Regions from separate parts of the Homo sapiens genome. Here region 2 is linked to region 1. The links are contacts of gene promoters, found by promoter capture Hi-C in human tissues and cell types (Jung and others, 2019). All regions are on one chromosome and are shown on one strand. Each heading gives the region's core, a stretch centred on a gene start or on the middle of the fragment in contact. The rest is flanking DNA. Distances are from core to core; before and after follow the strand shown. Region 1 holds the start of HEATR6 (HEAT repeat containing 6). Region 2 overlaps MED13 (mediator complex subunit 13).

What was found. Contacts are between HindIII fragments. The study calls those that stand out against the background at their distance.
Region 2: a fragment that was not itself captured here is called in contact with the fragment with the promoter of HEATR6 in region 1 in 1 of the 25 tissues and cell types used here (hippocampus).

What each region holds. Positions count from the first base shown.
Region 1 is chr17:60,076,631-60,082,690 of GRCh38, reverse strand. It overlaps HEATR6 (HEAT repeat containing 6), which reads left to right and starts at 3,770. Exons shown (of 20, transcript NM_022070.5): 1 at 3,770-3,995. The coding sequence starts at 3,777. It overlaps HEATR6-DT (HEATR6 divergent transcript), which reads right to left and starts at 3,382. Exons shown (of 2, transcript NR_135648.1): 1 at 3,219-3,382. RefSeq lists a silencer at 3,984-4,113. The HindIII fragment of the contact is 14,340 bases long and covers 1-6,060 here.
Region 2 is chr17:62,053,244-62,060,150 of GRCh38, reverse strand. The region is part of intron 2 of MED13 (mediator complex subunit 13); the gene reads left to right. Among named protein-coding and RNA genes, the nearest start is that of MED13, 8.6 kb to the left of the region's middle. The HindIII fragment of the contact is 7,913 bases long and covers 1-5,976 here.

The DNA of each region.
Region 1 (6,060 bases), core at 2,521-5,020:
ATGGCGCAAGATTTCATCACGCTACTCAGAACAGCAGCAAGTTGAAATGTATGAATTGTTTATTTCTGGAAATTTCCATTTCGTTTTTTTTTTCTTTTTTTTTTGGACGGAGTTTTACTTTGGTCACCCAGGCTGGAGTGCAATGGTGTGATCTCGGCTCACTGCAATCTCTGCCTCCCAGGTTCAAGTGATTCTCCTGCCTCAGCCTCCCAAGTAGCTGGGATTACAGGCGTGTGCCAACACGTCCGGCTAATTTTTGTATTTTTAGTAGAGATGGAGTTTCACCATGTTGGTCAGCTGGTGTCGAGTTCCTGACCTCCAGTGAGCAGCCCGTCTCGGACTCCCAAAGTGCTGGGATTACAGGCATGAGACACTGCGCCCAGCGCATTTCATATTTTCATACTGTGATTGACCACGGGTAATTGAAAAGGCTGAAAGTGAAACTACTGATAAGGGGGGACTCCTATGTAATCACATAGATAGGCTGATGACCCTGAAACAGAACTCAAGGCCAATCCTCCTTCCTAGCCTCTCCTGGTTCAAAGTGTAATCTGGATACCGAAATCAAGCTCCTGTCTTCTGGTTTTCCCCATTACAAAATGTGGGAGGTAAAAAACAATGGGTTTATAATTTCTTGTCTATGTTCTTCACAATCACAGCCAGCCTGGGCTGCAATCTGATTTCAACCAATTTGCTGCCTGTGCAGCCTTGACCAACCATTTATACTCTTCGGCACCATTTTCCCAACTATAAAAGGGGGAAATAATATCTACCTCATTTGATACTAAGACTTATAAAACTTTATAGTTTACAAAGCATTTTCACAAAAATCCCATTCGATTTTCACATCAACCGGTGGCAAATAGGGGACCCTGAATAAAAAATTAGTGAATTCATTCATTCTGTTAACAAATATTGTGGGGCATCTACCACATCCCAGGGGCTGTGCTAGCCCTGGGATACAACAGCGAATGAGACAAACGGGAACTGTGCCTTCATAAAGTTAATATTCTAGAGGGGAAAACAGATGATAAAGTCATCAAATAAACAAGATAACTGCAGGTTATGGTAAATTTTCCGAAGGAAATAATCAAAGATGTGAATTAGAGTGAAGTGGGGGTATGCAAGCCTACGTGAGTTAGGATGACCCAGACGCTCATGAAGGGATAAAAGTGAAGTCTTGAGAGGTTTCCACACATGAAAGGAGTGAAATTCCACTGAGGTTCCAGATCATCCGATGCAGAATCTAACAAAGGAAATGGCTGTGAACGTGCTTAGCACCCCTTAAAGCCCCTCAGTCACTGCAGGACTATGAAAATGCAGAGAATTGAGGAGGAGACAGAAGATTTTCTTGGAAGAGAGCTTTTGCCATGCTGTGTTTCCACAGTTTCAGGGTGGGAGGTGGGAGCAGGAGTGCTACTGTCTAAACTCAAGCCAATGCAGGGTGCCTTCAAAGGCCTCCCTCAGAGCTTGAGATACGTTTCCTTCAGTTGGTGATCACTGCAGAGTAGGGATGTCCATTTCCTTAAAGGAACCACACTGATCCAAAACAGTATATTCTACCAGAACTGAACAGACCGGCATCAGTATACTGTATTTTACAATTCCTGGGCCATTCCACCCTGAATAACACAATATGTAGGTCATCCATATTGCAACTTAAAGTGAACCACACCAAACCCAGATCCTTTCCAGTCTCTTCGAACGTGCATTGTGGAAATGACCAGGCCTCACATCCTTCTAGCCCAATGTGTAAGACAGCTCTTTAGTACTACTTCACATACTCTTGGTCTTACATTCTTACTCTAGCCATTGCTACAGCAACTAGTTTATCACAGGCATCTACTAGCTTAGCACAGGTATAACTGGTGAGAGCCTTGCCTCAGATATGCACCTAGTTTCCTCACTTTTGCCTCAGGGCTTCTTTGACTATGCAACATAGGACTCCTCCAGGAACCAAGCACAGATGCATGCTCAACACAGGAACACCAGTGAATTAATGCCTTGTGGTCAACTTTTGACAATAGACTTCAAAAGCTGACAGATAAATGCTTTTCCTCTCTGTTCCTCAGAAGAAGGGTTTTGAGAGCTTCACAAGGCTTCTCAGAAACTCCTGAGGACTGAACAATCAGTCACCCCTTGCAATGGCCAACTCAATAGCACATATTGGTATTAATTCTCCTTCCTTCCCTGTTCATTTCTGGATAAATCCCTCACCTATCAACCTCATCTGAGGCTCTGCTATCAGGGAACCCAGATTAAAATATCCAACGACTAGGTTTCAGCTCCTGATCTTCTCTGAACAAATGCTTGAATACATTTCTTTACACGAATACACACACACACATGCACATATATAACGCACATATGTACACAGACTAGGAATAAGAAATAATATACCAGCACAACGGAATCTAAATCCAAACAAAAAAATTAACATTTCTCCCCAAGCCCAAAGTCTTCAGAAAACTACCTCTGCTAAAGCATACCCCCAATTTTCACTGCTGAACAGAAATGTTTTGTTCTCAGGATAAAACATACATTCAGGTGACTTCAAGGTTTTCCCTAAGGGCCAAGGGTGAGGATTTGCTTTATATTTGCATAACTCAAAGGCCCTAGAGATGGTTTTCCCAATCTGCCCAACTGTGAAAGTCAAGCCTTCACTTCCTGGATGACTGAAAAGTGATCACAGATTTTTAAATGGCCATTTTATTCTCCAGCTTCTTGACTTCAAGGTTTCAGAAAATCTTGGGGTGTCTCATTTCAACCCGGTCACTCTTAGGCAGATTATATTTTACATGATTCAGTTAAACTCCAAAATTACTCTTCTAGTGGGGCGAGGTGCCTCATGATCCATGAGAGGATTCACACTGGGAAAAAGGGAGAAAAAGGAACCAAGAGTACAGCCAGCTGTCACTTAAGTAGGGAAAGCTGCCTTATATTCCACTGACCAGATTGCAATCACAGAGCCACAGCCAACTGCAAGGAATGCTAGGGAACGTAGCCTTTATTCCGGGTGGTTTTGTGCCTGGGGAAAGATTTTAGAAGAGTAGAAGGGTGCCTTAGAACTAGCGGTTTCTGCTACTGCCATCCACAGCATACCCTCTCCAACTCCAGCCCGAATCTGAAACTCTAGTACGGAACAGAGTACCTTCAGCCCTGTCCAGGAACAAACTCTGGGAGGACAAACTTTCTGGAAGCACAAATTGAGAACTCACTTTTCAGTCAGGGCTCAAGAAGGAGTGGCCGGCGAAAAATCTCCAAGCCAATTTCTTTCTTTTTTTTTTTTTCTGAGACGGAGTCTCGCTCTGTCGCCCAGGCTGGAGTGCAGTGGCGCGATCTTGGCTCATTGCAAGCCCTGCCTCCCGGGTTCACGCCATTCTCCTGCCTCAGCCTCCCGAGTAGCTGGGACAACAGGCGCCCGCCACCACTCCCGGCTAATTTTTTTTTTTTTTTTTTTTTTGTATTTTTAGTAGAGACGGGGTTTCACCGTGTTAGCTAGGATGGTCTCGATCTTCTGACCTCGTGATCCGCCCGCCTCGGCCTCCCAAAGTGCTGGGATTACAGGCGTCAGCCACCGAGCCCGGCCTCCAAGCCAATTTCTGACAAGCATCTGCAGGGTACCGGTCGGAGGAGTCCCGTAGTCATGGAAACCCCTCTGAGCCCCAGTCCGGTCTAAAAAAGGTACTTTCGGAACTAGAGCGCGCGGAACGGGAGGATGTCCCGGAAGTATTTCCCTGGGATCACCCCACCCACCCCCCCCGCCCGTAGAAAAGATGGCTGCTGTGCAAGTTGTCGGTTCGTGGCCTTCCGTGCAGCCGCGGGAGGCACCGCGGGAAGCAATCCCTGAGCGAGGCAATGGGTTTCGCCTCTTGTCTGCCAGGCTCTGCGCCCTGCGCCCGGATGACAGCAGCTCCGCCCGCACCGAGATCCACCTGCTCTTCGATCAGCTCATCTCCGAGAACTACAGCGAGGGCAGTGGCGTGGCCCCGGAGGTAGGCGGCGCGCCCTGCTGGCCCCGGCCCCGGCCCCACCCCTCCGGGAACCCAGCTGGTGGCCTCTGCCTGCCTTTCCCTGATCTTCCCACTCTCGCGCCTGATGATTTAGTTTCAGGATGGCGTGCCCCCTCCAACCTTGGCACATTCTTAGTTCTCCATTTGGAAGACCCTGCAGTGCTTGGCACGCTCGAGTCATTCAAAACCCAACTTGACGACTCCTGCTCTGATAATGCCTCGGGTTTCCTCTCTGATACCAACTTTCCATCCGCCCGCACCCTCCTTCACTCCCTCTCTGTGCACCCAGAACACTTGGTTGACAAAATGCATTACTACTGTTTATTGCGTACATGGTACACGGACCACGTGGGAATCTTAGAACTTGCGTAGTATTAGGGCTTGTTTGCTAATGAAAATACTGAAGCTCGTAAAAATACAGTATACAAAACTCTGCCACAAAGCCCCTATGTTTTCTGTTCCTACACACTAGCTCCTCCCCTCTGCCGTCTTTCTGAGTAATCTTACACACATCAGGCCTTAAATTAATGAATTCTCTGAACTGTTGACACCATGGCCTTCTGGCCCTACGTAGGAAAGAGGGAAGTGGTGCAAGTTGCCTGCTTGCACAGGCATCTCAAACTAGACAGTTCCTAAAGATGAAATTCATTAGCTCCAAACACGCATTCCCGTCCCCAGTCCATCCCACCTTCCAACACACATGCATCATCCACCAAGTCACACCAGACACAAACACTGGTTCTTCCCTCCTTCATCCCAGATCCTGACCAACTCAGGTATTTCAGAATGTGTCTCATATATATTTCTCAGTTCATCCCCTCCTGTCTATTCCCATAGCGAGTGCCTTAGACCTCAGGCAAGGCGACTTATGCCTGGACTGTTCGCTGATCCCCTCTGACTGATCTCCTGCCTCCTGTCTAGCTCCTCTCCAAGCCAGTCATTCCTCCAATGCCAGAATGATCTTTTCTTTAGGAGGAAAAAAAATTGTTCATAAACTTTAAAATCTGCTTTGGAAAAGTCTTCAATACGTATTGGTAAATGGTTGAAGCAAGTTGCAGGACAATTCATACAGAATGAGATCAGTATGAAGCTGGAGGAGGGATTTTAAAATATGTGTGTTTATATATGCAAAGTAAAAGGTCTGAAAGAATTGACTACAGAATAATAGTGTATGTCATTAGGAAGCAGAGTGAGATTAAGGCAGTAGTCGGGGACTTTTGCTGTATTTGTGTAATTGGATACTTTTGCAACAAAACTTCCATTCTCTCCTGTTACTCCCCCTTTTGTTCCTGTGTGCAGCCATTTAAAACTTGCTGTTCTTCAGGCACCTACTAGTGTTTCACACCTCCAGGTTTTTGCATACTCTGTCCACTTTGCTTGCAGTGTTTTTTGATGCCCTATCTGGCAAATTTCTCCTCATCCTTCAAATCATTCCAGATTCTGCTTTACAGTCACCTCCACAAGGCCTCCCTAATTACTGTTTCTGGACAGAGTTTGTACTTTATTCTTTCAGCACTTGATTCACCTTATTTTAATTATTTGTTGTGTTTCTTTCTCTCTCACTAGTTTGTGAGCTCTTTGAGGTTCAGGAACATGTTTGTTTTACCTTTGGAGCCCAAAGACCTAGCACACTATGACACATAGTAGGTGCTCAGAACCTTGTCATTCTATAAACATCGATGGATGAAGAGTGTGACTTGCAAATAGGTCCCTCTTTTTTTTTTTTTTTTTTTAAGAATTCCCTAATTATGCATAAAATCCATAGAAGTGTTAGGTCTGATTTTTCCCAATGGCATTGAAAATCTGGTTCACTTACCTTTTGATATTTTTAGCTTCAGTTTGTGCTTTCATACCCTAGAAGCCTTTTTCTGGTTATTTAATTATACTGTCTTTACATATAGAGAGCACAGAGTCTTCAGCCTGACCAAAACCGTACTGATTCTTTTCCTTTTTTTTTCTTTTTTCTTTTTTTTAAGAGACAAGGTCTCACTCTGTCATCCAGACTGGAGTGCAGCAGCAAGATCATAGCTCACTGTGACCTAAAACT
Region 2 (6,907 bases), core at 771-3,270, 2.0 Mb before region 1:
CGGCTAATTTTTTGTATTTTTAGTAGAGATGGGGTTTCACCGTGTTCGCCAGGCTGGTCTCGAACTCCTGAGCGCAGACAGTCCACCCGCCTCGGCCTCCCAAAGTGCTAGGATTACAGGCGTGAGTCACTGCACCTGGCCGTAAATAACTTAAAAATTTATCAAAGTGAAGTGATTGAAATAATAAACTGAAATACAATTAGGAGTGGTATATGATCATATTTATTGTTCCAAAGCTTGTCCTGTACTGTTTTAGTTTGCATAGTCAGTGTTATTTATATAATATTTTAGCTTTTCTTAAAAATAAAACCTGTTATTTACTTAAGAATGTTGTTACTTAAATCAGACGTATCTTAAAGCATAATAAGGTTTTTTCAGATGGAATATATTTGTCTTGCCCTTTTCTTTGCTCTAGGGACAGCGTCTACCTCCCTCTTGGGGTAATTAGTCTGCCTCTGTCTCTCTAGCTAACCCCTTTTTCATTTCTTCCATCTGTGGCACTCTATTTCCTTCTTCTAAGCTCCCCTGAGAAGAGAGCAGCTGGACAGTACAGGGTAGCATCAGCTGCTGGAGGCAGTCCTGAGTTCCAAGTGGAGGTGTAGCACTGAGGAATGGGGTACCGGAAGGACCCAGGTGGTAACTAAAAAGCTGGTTAATTTAGCTTGAGCCTGCTCTTCACAGGCAGTGTCCTTCTGTTTGGTTCAGCACACACCACATCTTGTTACTGAAGTGTTTTTTATTATGGTGATAATATTGCCCTTGTTTTTCTTGGTAGTGAGGGAAGAGGGAAAGCATTTCTTTTTTCAAAGATTAGAATTCTCAGTTTTTCTTAACTGGAATATTCAGTAACAGAAATACAGAATTGCCTTTGTTTAACCCCCTTAGCTCCTTTGTGTCATGCAGTGTATTTTTAAAAATTAACTAATGAACCAATATTGATACTTTATTATTAACTAAAGTATATATTTGGATTTCCTTTATTTTTTTGCCTAATATGTTTTTCTTTTCTAGGATCTCATTTAAGATACCCCTATTACATTTAATTGTCATGTCTCCTTAGGCTTTGTTAGACTGTGACAGTTTCTCAGACTTTCTTTGGTTTTGATGATTTCGACAGTTCTGAAGAATCTGTTCAGATTCCATAGTGCATTTTAAATTTCATTTTCTCTTATGTCACTTAGCATTTGTTTGGGTTACCTTCCTTTCAAGTTTAGCTGATGTGTAGAAATAGAATGTAAACTTATTTTATTGCTAACTGGCAAAGATCAGTTACAGCAAATCACGTCTGATTTAATACATACTTTAAACCCTCAGTTACTCATTTTGTAGCAGTAAGTCAATACCGTTGAGCAAAGTAATTTGCAAAGGCTGGATGATTTTTGGATCAGGATTTGTGCTAACTAGTATTAGCCAAACTATAACATTCCAGAAGGTTATTTGTTCAAAAAATCTCTTGAATTCCAAAGCCAAACATAGATGATTTTCTTACTTTTTGCTTTATCCTCTATAGGATAATGATTAGTTGAATCGGGGTCGATATGTTTTGATACAAAAAGGATTAGGGAATAAAACTCCTTTGGGGTTACAGCTTTTTTCTTTCTTTCTTTCTTTTTTTTTTTTTTTTTTTTTTGAGATGAAGTCTCGCTCTGTCTCCCAGGCTGGAGTGTAGTGGGGCGATCTTGGCTCACTGCGACCTCCGCCTCCCAGGTTCAAGCGATCCTTCTGCCTCAGCCTCCCGAGTAGTTGGGACTACAGGCATGTGTCATCACGCCTGGCTAATTTTTGTATTTTTGGTAGAGATTTTAATAGGAGTTTCGCCATGTTGGCCAGGCTGGTCTGGAACTCCTGGCCTCAGGTGATCTGCCCGCCTCAGCCTCCCCAAGTGCTGGGATTACAGGCATGAGCCACCATGCCTGGCCCCTTTTTTTTAAAAATTGTATTTTGTAGCTTTGTTTAGTGGTTGTGTGATAGTGGGTGAAAGAGGTATAAAATGGGTGATGGGAAAATCTTAGCTCAGTCCCTCTGGTCAAGAATCTCTGTGGTGGGTAGGACTGGTACTTTTAAGTGTACTGTTAATTTGCTTCAGAGCAAGATTGTATCATTTTCATTAATGTGGTCTTGAAGGAGAGTTTTCTGTGTATTTTTATTCTGTGTTCTAACATTTTTGGAATTCAATTGCTGTCATCATTGGCTTTTATTCTTTCCCTTTAAATAAAAATAAAAGCAAACACTGCGTCCTCTCCCATTTGTCATCTTAAAAAAATCATAGCAAGTTAGACTGTGATGAGACTCTTTGAGAAAACTGATACCTTGTGAACTAAAAAAACTCAGGGCTAAAAATATTTGTTCTTTTTCCTGGCTCCTGAGGTCTGTAAAGTAGATTTTAGTAACATGTTCAGATAGTTTTATTATACCAGAATTTTATCATAATGAATAGTGCTCAAACTAAGTGGACTATTGTTCTGAATTTAATTTTGGATGTTTTAATTGAAGGATATTAACTGTAGTGGACTTTAACCTTAAATGACAGCTGTTAATAGGATTGACAGATAGATAAACAGCCAGGCATAGGAATCTAGTCCCAGCCAAACTAAAACATTGTTGTGTGCCCCACATAGTCTAAAGAGAGTAATTTATTTCTACTATTGTAAAATTTACTTGTGATGTGGCCCGACTCTTTAAATTGGCTAGTCTCCTAGGTGACAACTTCATTTGCTGTATTTCTTCTGCATACTGTTTTTTTGATCAAGTGTATCTTCTAAGTTTTCAAGCCAAACATAACATACTAGGCTGTTTTTAAATCAGTTTTCAAGTTTTGCCATAGATAATGATGCGGCCAACTTAAGGCTCTCGGTATATTTGTTGAATGTATAGGTTATTAATGATTATTCAGGAGAAACACTGATCTAGCATTTAAACATTTCTCTTTATTTCAGGAAATACATGGTATTTTCTACCATGTTAATTTTTGAGCCATTATTCATTAGCATATGTTACATTTTAATAGTTTTGCAAAATTGTATTGGAGAAGATTCATTTTTTACCACCGTGGAGATATTTAAAGATGCCATTTTTTTGAGAAAAATGTTGAGTGCAGGGTGTGTCTGCTTTTTTGGTTGTGATTTTTTTTCCCCATTGATAGAGAATTATTTTGATGACTTATCACATACTTTGGCACTACTGTAATCTGCATCTTCAGGAAAAAAATATGGTAATCAAATTTAGCATTTGTGTTTTCTTCCAATAAATAGTCCATAAAAATTTCAAGAAACACTGATGATTAAGAACTGTAATGCTAATAGTAACAGAAAAGTACTAAGAATGCAGAGTTGAACTTTATTTTCTCTGGACATAGAGCTACAAGAGAAGGAATTTTTTTTTCTTTTTTTTGTAGGGATGGAGGTCACACTTTGTCTCACTCAGCCTGCAGTGCTTAATCATAGCTCACTGCAGCCTCCGACTCCTGGACTCAAGCAATCCTCCCACCTCAGCTTCCCCAGCAGCTGGGCCTACAGGCATTGCCACTATGCCCTACTAACTAAAAAAAGTTTTTTGGAGTCAGGGTCTTCCTGTATTGCCAGGCTAGTCTTGAACTCCTAGCTTCAAGTGATCCTTCTGTCTTAGCTTCCCAAGTAGCTGGGATTACAGGCATGAGTCATTGCACCTGGCTAGAGGAGGAAAATAGTTATATAGATTAAGCAGACTTTTTCTATTAGGCTCTGGTTAAGTTCAAAAGAGATAGGTAAAGATTTGCCATATGTTCCCTTCTCCTTCCCCTCCCTATTATAATGCTGGTGTTGAGATTCAAGAACTTGTTTCAATTAGTGTAAATAGTGCATATCACTATGCCTTGAGTGGGTTGGTTGTACCATTTCACTTTTCGTATCTGAATACAACGTGTAGAAAGTACTTTTATTACAGTTATTAGATTGTCAGGATATTAGAAACTTGGCTCAGTAGGCTTCTTGTTTCTAAGTGATTCCCAACAAAACCAAAAACCTTCAGACTTTATTGAGCGTTATTAGGACTTACTCTCGTTTTTCTCAGCAACAAAATATGAAATTATATTACTTTAGTGTAATGGTTGCTTAGTTGCTTGCCATATAGATGAGGACATACTTCAGAGATACGTTGGATTTAGAAAACCTCAACAGGTGGTCTCTACTTGTTTGTTTTATGCATAGCTCCTATTTAGTGTTAATGAGAATTGTGGGCACTGGGGACATAAGATGCCCACCCCCTCTGAAAGCATTAGAATAATGAGGGAGAAATGCTTCAAGATTAATACTGATTACTTTTCTAAACCACATTCAATATTCTTTTTTTTTTTGAGATGGAGTCTTGCTCTGTCACCAGGCTGGAGTGCAGTGGCGTGATCTCGGTTTACTGCAGCCTCTGCCACCCAGTTCAAGTGATTCTCCTGCCTCAGCCTCCCGGATAGCTGGGACTACAGGTGCATGCCATCTCGCCCAGCTAAGTTTTGTATTTTTAGTAGAGATGGGGTTTCACTATGTTGGCCAGGCTGGTCTTGAACTCCTGACCTCAGATGATCCACCTGCCTCGACCTCCCAAAGTGCTGGGATTATAGGCATGAGCCACCGCACATGGCCTCACATTAAATATTCTTAAATCATTTGACTGCAAGTTTAACTAAAATAGATTTTACAAAATAAAACCATAAAATTTTCAGAATTTCATGTGAAAATTTATAAATTGTGCTTTAGCTTTTACTATTGCAAAGGTTTTTTTTTTTGTTTTTTTGAGTCAGAGTCTCGCTATGTCGCCCACAGTGGAGTGCAGTGGTGTGATCTCAGCTCACTGCAACTCCCATCTCTTGGGCTCAGGTGATTCTCATGCCTCAGCCTCCTGAGTAGCTGGGACTACAGCCGTGCCATGCATGGCTAATTTTTATATTTTTAGTAGAAATGGGGTTTTGCCATGTTGGCCAGGCTGGTCTCGAACTCCTGGCCTCAAGTGGTCCACTTGCCTTGGCCTCCTGAAGTGCTGGGATTACAGGCATGAGCCACCACACCTGGCCTCAGCCTCCCGGATAGCAGGCGTGAGCCACCACACCTGGCTTCAGCCTCCCAGAAAGCAGATTTTTTTATTTACTATTTTTGCGAAGGAGACAAAGTCATTTTCTAGTTTTAAATGACTAATTTATTTGAAGTTTATAACAACTGTACAACCTTGATACTTACAAATGGTAACTGTGTCTTGGGTCTTTGATGCTTTAAAACTTAGGAGAAATATGTTGGTAGTGGTTTCTTATGTAGAACAAGTGTTACAACCATCAGAAGGTAGGGATTTTTGAAATAAAAGGTAATAAAAATAAAAGATACTAAATTGATTGTAAAGAGGTGAAGAATTGGAAGATATTCCTAACATAATTCTGTTGGAATTAAGAACATGTATATTCTAGTAGTCATAAGTCTCATAATTTGAGGTAAAAGTCTTAATGTAGCTATTTAATTTTGAAATGGTAGGACCTCATTAAATTGAAAGCAGATCAATTGAGATTCTTTTCTCTTTTTTTGTCATCAACTCACAAATATGCTTGTGATCTAGACCTTTAATTAATTAAAGTGAAGTCACTTTGTGCTGCTTCTCTATTCTCCTAGCCTAATACTTTCTTTAATGAAGTGAAACCCATAAACGTTTTGGTTTTAAATGGAAGTAGATAACGGTGTCTTTGATATAATAGAATGTGAATTTTTCCTATTTAATATTTATGATTAATATTAGACTTAAAAAATTATTCTATACCAATTCTGAAATATTGTCATTTTCTCAAGCTTATTCTACTTTTTTTTCCCTAAGCTTACCTTTTTTTTTGTTTGTTTGTTTTTTTGGAGACTGAATCTCACTCTGTCCCAGGCTGGAGTGCAGTGGCACGATCTTGGCTCACTGTAATCTCTCCCTCTTGGGTGATTCTCCCACCTCAGCCTCCCGAGTAGCTGGGATTACAGGGCTGCACTATGACGCCTGGCTAATTTTTGTATTTTTAGTAGAGATGGGCTTTCATCATGTTGGCGAGGCTGGTCTTGAACTCCTGACCTCAGGTGATCCGCCCACCTCAGCCTCCCAAAGTGCTAGGATTACAGGCGTGAGTAACTGCGCCCAGCCTAAAGCTTATTTAAAATAAAATTTAAAAAAAAATTAGTTGCTTTGAAAGACTTGACTATCATTTAGGAGAAAATATAAAACCAACATTAATCTTTGTAGTGGCACAGAATTTCTAGTGCAGTTAAAGTCCACTATCATACTTTTTAGTTAATGTTTATTCTACCCATTTGTTGTATAAATTGTGCATATAAACCATGTGTAACTCTTAATACATGTCTTTGCTTTTATTCAGAAGCTCATATTGTGTCTGTTTTTCTGTGGGTATAGTGTATGCATTTTTGGTGTTGAATTGAGAAACGTTTGTCTTTTATTTTTACTTAAACATTGAACACAGATGACCCATATTTACAAAATGTTTATAAAGGTATATAGGCTATAGAAGGAGAGTTAATTATATTTAGACTAAGCAATTTAAAATCTTGTAATGAAAGTTAGAGTGCTGAAGTGGTATCATTATTTGTAGCACGATTTGTTGGATGCTTTGTGACAGATATGAAATGGATAGAGTACACAAAAAAATTTTTCTGACCTACATCCAGACTTATCTCAAAATGACTGTGTTAATGTTTTTTTGGTAAATTAACTTGGAGTGATTAATAGATTTGTTGGCAAAATTGAAGCTATATAGTTAGTGAAGATAGCTATAATTTTATTTGACAGAAGTGCCATTTACAATTTAAGTCTTTAAATTTTTAAATTTCTCCCCCAAGTAAAGGGTCCTGTACTGAATAATAATCATGGGAATAATTTGTTTGAAATGAGACCTAAGGTGGCTGATAGT